Regions from separate parts of the Homo sapiens genome. Here all the other regions are linked to region 3. Evidence: promoter capture Hi-C in 16 types of primary human blood cells and fetal thymus (Javierre and others, 2016). All regions are on one chromosome and are shown on one strand. The core of a region is centred on a gene start or on the middle of the fragment in contact, and the rest is flanking DNA. Distances in the headings are between cores, read along the strand shown. Region 1 overlaps LINC02755 (long intergenic non-protein coding RNA 2755). Region 2 overlaps LOC107984419 (a long non-coding RNA gene). Region 3 holds the start of FSHB (follicle stimulating hormone subunit beta).

The links. The method cuts DNA at HindIII sites, captures the fragments that hold promoters and counts their contacts. A CHiCAGO score of 5 or more calls a contact.
Region 1: a contact is called between a fragment that was not itself captured here and the fragment with the promoter of FSHB in region 3, in 1 of 17 cell types (endothelial precursors). The highest score is 7.9, in endothelial precursors.
Region 2: a contact is called between a fragment that was not itself captured here and the fragment with the promoter of FSHB in region 3, in 1 of 17 cell types (M0 macrophages). The highest score is 5.3, in M0 macrophages.

Annotation. Positions count from the first base shown.
Region 1 is chr11:29,421,105-29,424,211 of GRCh38, forward strand. All of the region lies in intron 2 of LINC02755 (long intergenic non-protein coding RNA 2755), which reads right to left. Among named protein-coding and RNA genes, the nearest start is that of LINC02755, 170 kb to the right of the region's middle. The HindIII fragment of the contact is 539 bases long and covers 1,348-1,886 here.
Region 2 is chr11:30,836,770-30,839,691 of GRCh38, forward strand. The region is part of intron 3 of LOC107984419 (a long non-coding RNA gene); the gene reads right to left. Among named protein-coding and RNA genes, the nearest start is that of LINC02859, 100 kb to the left of the region's middle. The HindIII fragment of the contact is 3,827 bases long and covers 1-2,922 here.
Region 3 is chr11:30,229,653-30,233,033 of GRCh38, forward strand. It overlaps FSHB (follicle stimulating hormone subunit beta), which reads left to right and starts at 1,362. Exons shown (of 3, transcript NM_001382289.1): 1 at 1,362-1,396; 2 at 2,214-2,409. The coding sequence starts at 2,251. The region is part of intron 1 of ARL14EP-DT (ARL14EP divergent transcript); the gene reads right to left. The HindIII fragment of the contact is 8,364 bases long and covers 1,263-3,381 here.

The DNA.
Region 1 (3,107 bases), core at 367-2,866, 810 kb before region 3:
CCATCCCATTACTGGGTATATACCCAAAGGACTATAAATCATGCTGCTATAAAGATACATGCACACGTATGTTTATTGCGGCATTATTCACAATAGCAAAGACTTGGAACCAACCCGAATGTCCAACAATGATAGACTGGATTAAGAAAATGTGGCACATATACACCATGGAGTACTATGCAGCCATAAAAAATGATGAGTTCACGTCCTTTGTAGGCACGTGGATGAAATTGGAAATCATCATTCTCAGTAAACTATCGCAAGAACAAAAAACCAAACACCGCATATTCTCACTCATAGGTGGGAATTGAACAATGAGAACACATGGACACAGGAAGGGGAATATCACACTCTGGGGACTGTTGTGGGGTGGGGGGAGCGGGGAGGAATAGCATTGGGAGATATACCTAATGCTAGATGACGAGTTAGTGGGTGCAGCGCAGCAGCATGGCACATGTATACGTATGTAACTAACCTGCACATTGTGCACATGTACCCTAAAACTTGAAGTATAATAATAATAATTTAAAAAAAAAGTGTAGGGATTGAGTAGTGGAAAAAAAAACAAAAAAAATTATCAAGCAGGTGTCTTTGCTATAGGTATTTTCAGAAACTTGAGTTTTCTAATGTAATTTCCTTACAAATATCAAAGGGTACAAAAATAGCAGAAGCCATTTTAAACTATAAGCACTTCATCTGCCTTGTGGATTAACCAATATGCTTAATTCCTTCTGGAAAACATTACGAACAATGCCCTCAGTTTGCTGTAAAAATGTGATGAATGACTTCTTTTAAGCTACTTGCTTCAACTACCTCCAGCTGTGTATTTAAAAAATTCACATTTTTTATCTGTTTAGGTCAATAGTAAGTGCTCTAATTATGTAATTAAATTAATTAAATAGTACTTTTTAAACACCATGAAATAAATGTGCAAATTTTTAAGGGATATTATTTTACACTAATTAAGTAGGACATCTTGATAAAAGTTATTGGCAAAAAATAAGTTGATACTGATTTAGTCTTAAGGAAGAAATCTAAAATGCAGAGTAAAGATAATAGTAAAAATTTAGACTTCTTCAGAGATTTTTTCACAATTAAAAAACATTCTCACATCCTTCACAAAAAATTGAAACTAGAAAAAATGATTGACACTGCAATCAGTGGACTCATACTCAAATAAAAGACTTTAGCTTTACAGCAAAAGACTGGCAAATAAATGCATATTTGTATGCTTTATATTTAAGTAAAATTCTAAAGATACATATACATTGTTTTAAATTTTTTTTTGCCTTAAGCACATTTTTACTTACAAAGCTAAACACAAGTCCTAATAAGATTGGTTTTTAAAGCTTCTATTCTATTCGAGTAGTTTGTTCTCTACTCTAGTAATTTTCTTATTCTATTTAATTATGTATTTTTTTAGATTATTGTTTCTCATTGCTAACCAGCTTTGGCTGAAAAATGTTCCAAAATACTTGCTTTTGTGGCTTTTCTTCATTTCCATTAGTAATAGAGTTAGATTGACAGTTCAAAGCAACTTAAAATTATTTTAAGCCACTTTTGTCTGAGAATTCCCATGTAAAGCAGGATAAATACCATATATAATGAATTAAACAGGTAGGTGGAAAAGTTGGTTTCTGATGAACCAACACAACCCCCAGAAGATGGGCATTAAAAATGTTCTTCAAATGTCTTTCGACAATAGGGCAGAGAAAGAATGAAGATAATTTTCAAAGTCACACAAAGGACATTTTGTTTCCAAAGATCACTTTAGAAACAAGAAATCAGGATTGAGTCTTGCCATATTCCCTCTGTCTACACCATTTTAGTATTCAGATTAGAGAATGTCTAGAACTTACTGGAACCTAAATGACACCAGTCTTTTAAGCTTTAGTTTTACAATACAGAGATAAGACATTGGGAAAATAAAATAGGATTACAGAGACCAGTACTCTGAATAGCTAAACATGACATAAAATGTTATTATATTTACTTACTTTTTGTCTTGTTTTCATTTTGTCTGACTATATAAACAATAAAACTCTCTTAGTTTCTAATAGATTAAAAATATCTTTAATGTTGAGATACTGTGTCAATTTAGAGCTCTTAAATCAGACCCTCCTATTAATTTAAAGTTCCCTTGTTTTCAGTTAAATCAAGGGAGGCAAAATATTCACAAAGCCTCCTTTGTAAGTTCCATTGATGCTCCCATCTTTTTCTCACTCTCCTAGTGTCTTCATTTTATCTTTACCACAGATTGAATTTCATAGTCAGCCAATTGAAACACTGCTTTGCATTTGTTTCAACCTCCTTGATTCTATCTCTAGGTTCATTCTATTCTGTTGTTAAAATCACAGTCCTGGGTAAATGCAATTCCTTACCTACTCAGAACTGCATCAGTATAGCTAGATGTGGCTGGATAAATGTGTATGACCACTCAGGTTAAAATCATTACCACAAATTTCAAGCCCAACCTTTATTGCTTGACAGTAAAACTACATTTCTTCAGTCCACTCATTTACTTACTTGTAAGAAGATTATTTTATGCATTCCTTTTTCTCTTCAAACCCCATTCTCATTTGAGTTTCTACTTCATTAAGGAAATTGAAGTACTTGAGAAGAATTTCTACAAACTTCCACTACTGAAACTACTGACATACTAGCATTTGTGTTTATACACTTGCCCTTTTTTCCTATGTATACACATAGATTATGCATGCTCCTATTTAAAGCCAATTCTCCAAATTTCCACCATATAACACCCTTTCATCTATTTAAGTACATTCATGTACTGCATAACGACATTTTGTTCAATGACAGGCCATATACACCAGTGGTCTCATAAGACCATACTACCTAATGTTTACTGTACTTTTTCCATATTTTAGATTTGTTTAGATGCCCAAATACTTACCATTGTGTTGCAATTGCCTACAACATTCAGTACAGTAACCTGCTGTACAGGTTTGTAGCCCAGGAGCAATAGGCTATATTATATAGCCTAGGTGTGTAGTAGCCTATGCCATCTAGATTTGTATAAGTACACTCTGAGGTTTGTACAATGATGAAAACACCTAATAATGCATCTCTTAGAATACATGTCCATC
Region 2 (2,922 bases), core at 133-2,632, 610 kb after region 3:
ATAGTGGCTTTATTCACAATTGCCAAAACTTGAAAGCAACCAAGATGTCCTTCAGTAGGTGAATGGATAAGTAAACTGTGGCACATCCGGACAATGAATATTATTCAGCACTGAAAAGGAATGAGCCATCAAGCCATGAAAAGACATAGAAGAAGCTCATATGCATATGTAAGTGAAAGACGCCATCTGGAAAGGCTACATATGGTATGATTTTAACTATATGTAATTCTGGAAAAGGCAAAACTATGAAGACAGTAAAGAGATCAGTGGCTGATGTGTGTTTGAGGGGAGGATGGATCAATAGGGAGAGCACAGAGGATTTTTCAGGCAGTGAAGCTACTCTATATGATATTAAAATGGTGGATACATACCATTACAGATTTCTCAAAATGCAGAGAATGTACAACATCAAGAGTGAACCCTAATGTAAACCATGGACTTTGGGTGACAATGATGTGTCAATGTAGGTTTATTGATGATAACAAATGTTCCCCTGGGGTGCAGGACATTAACAGTGGAAAAGCTGTGCCTGTGTGGGATCAGGGAGTATATGAAAACTCCATACCTTCTGCTCAGTTTTGCTCTCAACATAAAACTGCTCTAAAAATAAAGTATATTTACGAAAATGTTGCATGGACATTCTTGTACACAGCTACTGGTGCATATGTGCATCAGTTAATTTAGGGAATGCCTAGAAAATGAATTGATTGGTTGTATGGCATATGCATATCCAAATGTACTGGGTTATTCACAAAAATTGTTTCAATTTACATTCCCAACAACAGTGCATAAATCCTCTTTACTGCACCTCCTCACCAATGTTTGGGATTGTCATGTGTGAAAATTTGTCATTCTTGTGGTTGTCAACAACAAAAAAACATGTTTGGGATTTAGTCTATTATTAATAAAGTAGAGCATCTTCTCATGTTTATGCCAGTGCAAGTTTCTTCCTCTGTAAAGTACTTATTTATTTATTTTGTCATTTTTGGTAGGGTTGTTTGTTTTATTGATGGGTAGGAATTATTTATGTTCTGAATATTGTTCCTTTGTTGCTAATATATGTTATAAATGCTATTTCCAGTATATGTCCTTTTTTCATTCTATTATGCTTTTTAGTGAACAAAATTTCTTAATTTTAATGCAGCTGAATTTACCCTTTTTTTATTTTTTATTAATATCTGCTTCTGTTTTTGACATTTTCTGTCCTCTACTTTTGTTGGGTTTAGACTGTTGTTCCTATTTAAAATTCTTTTTTTTTTTTTTTTTTGAGACAGAGTCTCGCTCTATCGCCCACCCTGGAGTGCAGTGGCGGGATCTCAGCTCACTGCAAGCTCCGCCTCCTGGGTTCACTCCATTCTCCTGCCTCAGCCTCCCGAGGAGCTGGGATTACAGACACCCACCACCACGCCCGGCTTTTTTTTTTGTATTTTTAGCAGAGGCGGGATTTCACCATGTTGGCCAGGATGGTCCAACATTCTTAATTTTAATCCTTCCTTTTTTTATATAGAAATTTATAAGGCATTAAATTTTCCTAAAATACTACTTTATTTTTTCTATTATTTTTCAGATACAAGTATTTTAAAATTTCTATTGGATTTCCTCTTTACTCAGGAGGTTTTTTTTTCTCCCAAATGTATGAGATTATTTTAAATGCCTCTTTGTTATTGATTTCTAACATATTGTGTTATTGTTAGGAATGTGGGCTGTATGATACCCTTTGAAATTTAGTAAGCCCTCTTTTATTGCGTAAAATGTGATCTGGGATCCATGTGTGCTTGAACAAAATATGTATTCTCTTGTTATTGGTGTGATGGCCTTTGTATGTCTACTACATAAAGTTTCTTAATTGTATTTTAGAAATCTATATTCTTATTCCTGGAGAGCATGAGCTATCACTTACTGAGAGAAATGTGCTAAATATATCCCATTTTAATAGTGATTTGTCTGTTTTCTTTGCAGTTTTATTAGTATTTGCTGCATATAACTTGGTAGATTATTAGGTACATACTATTTAGAATTTTGTTATATTTTCTTATATTGCATGATTGTATTATGTTATATGTTTATCTCATGCATGTTTTTTGTCTGAAAGTCCGTGCTGTCTAATGTTAACATAATTATACCATCTTTCTTTTTGCCAATATTTGTCTAGAGCATCAGTAGGGGTCGAATTAGAAAAACAGAAACCTCCTTAAATATCTAAACATAGAGAATTTAATTCAGGAAATGGGATACACAAATGATAGGCATTCAGAGAAACTCAACGGGGATGGTGAAGCAATGTAAAGATGAGCAACAGCAAGAAGTTGCTACCATGAAGCGGGTGGGGAAACAAAGGTGAGAGAAAGTGATAGTAGAGCCCAGGAGTCATGGTCACCCACATTACCTAGAACCACAGAGAAGCTGTAACAATGCAGGAAAGACCTCTGGAGCTGGAGACTCCCTGAAAGAGAGGAAACCCCTGGGCACGGTCTTCCACTGATAGTCCAAACTCAGCCTCCCATTGACGGAACTTAGACGGAAACCAGTTGACCTGGGGAAAGCAGCTATTGGGCATCAGCATCACTGAGATTTGCTCAGTAGGAGCCCCTTCACACTGGCTTCTATGTCCTTTTGACATGTCCCTAGTATTCTTTGAGCACTTTCTTACTTAATGGCACAAAAAAGATGTTTCAGGCTCATCTTGTTCTTTCCTTGCGGCCCTGCAGGAGACCCTCTCATCCAGCTCAGCTGGTCTTATGCAGGGCCGCCATCCTGAGCAGAGACTCCTCCATCACTTGGACTCTGGGACCTCTTGCTCCTCCAAAGTCTAAGGGGGAAACGGGGTCCAGGACCTTTTTTTTTTTTTTTTTTTTTTTGAGACAGAGTCTCGCTCTGTCACCCAGGCTGGAGTGCAGTGGTGCAATCTTGGCTCACTGCAGA
Region 3 (3,381 bases), core at 112-2,611:
CATTTACAGCCATCCCCTTTCAGCTGATAGCAAGTTTATCCTTCCAGCTACTCAAACCAGAATCTTTAGAGCCATCCTTGACCCTTTTCCTCCTCTCACACTCAACATCTATCCATCAGAAAATTTTGTTGGTTCTACTTTCAAAATGCATACAGAGTCAGAGCATGTCTCATTACCTCCAATAGCTACCATACTAGTCTGAACAAACATCATTTCTCACCTGGGTTATTGAACAAACATCATTTCTCACCTGGGTTATTGATAGCATCCTAACGGGTCTTCCTGTTTCTTGGTTCCCCTATATTAGCAACACAGCAGTCAGAGGAGTCCTTTTAGAACTCAATCAGATCATGTCACGTCACTCCTCTACTTAAAATCCTTCAATGGGTCCCATTACACAAAGAGTACAAACCAGAGCCCTTACACTGGTCTACAAGTTCCAACATTTGACTCCTGTTATCTCTCTGACATCATATTCTAATATTACTGCTGTTGTCCTTTTGCTCCAGTCACACTGTTTGATTAGTAAATATTTATTAAACAAAGCAATCCTAGTCTCCAAAGAGATCATAGTTTATTGGAGGAAACAAGAGCCTATAAATGGTTACACACAGAAGGTAGTGATTATGGTTCTCCCTCACCTCCCATCCTAAACTTTGACAGGTGAAACTCCCCTGGATGTTGAAGGTTGAGGAATTTGCCAGGGTTCAGGGTGGTGTTGGAGGAGGCAGGGAGGAAGCAAGGACATTTCAGGCAGGAAGAACATTACATGCAAAGATCTAAAGATATGAATCAGCAACATATTTATGGAATTACAAGTAAAGTAGAAAGTTCTTGCTAAAACATCAAAAAATAAAGATTTGTGATTAGGGGGCCAGAATGTGGGAGGGAAAGAGAGATACAGTTCACACTTTAGACAGGAGCCAGATCATGAAATGTTTTCTCTTTGTTTGTTTCTTCCTTCACAGCTTTTGATATGCTCTTGGAGCAATTTATTAACCATATTTTTTAATGCATCTCCTGAACAGAGTCAAAGCAATACTTGGAAAGGACTCTGAATTTCCTGATTTAAAGATACAAAAGAAAAATCTGGAGTCACAATTAATTTGAGAAGGTAAAGGAGTGGGTGTGCTACTGTATCAAATTTAATTTGTACAAAATCATCATCTCTAGTAACATTATTTTTTCTAATCTACTGCGTTTAGACTACTTTAGTAAAGCTTGATCTCCCTGTCTATCTAAACACTGATTCACTTACAGCAAGCTTCAGGCTAGCATTGGTCATATTAATACCCAACAAATCCACAAGGTGTTAGTTGCACATGATTTTGTATAAAAGGTGAACTGAGATTTCATTCAGTCTACAGCTCTTGCCAGGCAAGGCAGCCGACCACAGGTGAGTCTTGGCATCTACCGTTTTCAAGTGGTGACAGCTACTTTTGAAATTACAGATTTGTCAGGACATGGAGGACAAAACTAGAGCTTCTCACTACTGTTGTGTAGGAAATTTATGCTTGTCAACCTGGCTTGTAAAATATGGTTAATATAACGTAATCACTGTTAGCAAGTAACTGACTTTATAGACCAATATGCCTCTCTTCTGAAATGGTCTTATTTTAAACAAATGTGAGCAAAAGAAAATATTTATGAGATTCTAAAAATGAAGACATAATTTTGTAGTATAGAATTTTCTTGGCCAGGAATGGTGGCTCATGCTTGTAATCCCAGCACTTTGGGAGGCCAAGGTCAGAGGATTGCTTGAGCCTGGAAGGTTGAAGATGCAGTGATTCATGATTATACCACTGCACTCCAGCCTGGGCAACAGAGCAAGACCCTGTCTCAAGAAAAGAAAAGAATTTTATTTTTCTTTTCAGACAAAAATAGACTTTAAAATAATAATGGAAGAACAAATATGATGATCACAATTATCAGAGTAATTACTTTATGACAGTCAGCAATAAGATTCTAATCTTTAAATATTCCTCTGCTTAAATCATTATATTGGAGTTTTGATCTATAATATATTCCCACCCTGACCCAAAAATTGAAGAAGGACAAGGAAAAATGTTGTTCCAAGAAACAAAGATGTAAGTAAAAAGGCATAAGGAAGGAAAAAAAACTTTTGAAGCAAAATGTGATTGAGGAGGATGAGCAGACCAATTATTTTTGGTTTGGTCAGCTTACATAATGATTATCGTTCTTTGGTTTCTCAGTTTCTAGTGGGCTTCATTGTTTGCTTCCCAGACCAGGATGAAGACACTCCAGTTTTTCTTCCTTTTCTGTTGCTGGAAAGCAATCTGCTGCAATAGCTGTGAGCTGACCAACATCACCATTGCAATAGAGAAAGAAGAATGTCGTTTCTGCATAAGCATCAACACCACTTGGTGTGCTGGCTACTGCTACACCAGGGTAGGTACCATGTTTTGCTGGAAGCAAGGGTGTTGAAGGTCTGTATTAGGCCGGTTTCATTAGTTTCTACTTTATCAATATTTTATGTATTCTAAGTAACAGCCATGAGTCCTTTAGCCAAGACTGTCTGTGTTGTGATTGGGGTTAATGACCACGATATCACTTAGATGTTTGGGCTTGGATTTGATTTGGGTAAATTTAGGAAAGCCTCAGATTTAATCTGATCAATTTGGTACTAGTCCAACTTTGCATCTACAGGGAAAAAGTATTTCTATGTTACGTTTTTACACATAGAGAGATAAACATGGAAACATACATATATTTAATCATAAAGGACCTATAATATTCTCATAAAGGCAATTTCTTTAACTGACACTACATCTTTGACACAAAATCACACCAAAATATGTCTCCAAGTCACATAAAAACATAGACAGCCACTTAAAAAAATTGTCTTCCTGGCCCTACTAAATACAAATGCCAAAAAACAGCCTGAGAACACAATCAATTCTTGCAGACTGTTAGAACAAAAATGAATCAGCAAACCCACTCCCTTCGTTATAGCATTGAGAAAACCAAGACATAGAGGCATCAGTTGCTAGTCTGTGTTTGCAGTTTCCTTGCATTAATACAAGTAGAGAAATAGTTTCCATGGTGCTTTCTTTTTTCTCTGCAGCACCCCTAATTATCTATGCAGAATTTCATTCTATAAACTAAAATTGAAAATGGCAACTTTTTAAATGAACGATACTTTATTTGACGGTAAATGAGTTTGATCAAACTCCATTTATTACACAATTTATTGCACCTTCTTGGGATATACATTTGGTAGGATGATATTAAAATAAACAGAAGCCCCAATTTCTCTACGCAGTATAAATAATTTTTCCACTGGAAAGTGCTACTACAAATAATTTCTACCTGGATTAAAAATTCTTATATGCAAACTGCATATCCTTTGAAACTAGGAAC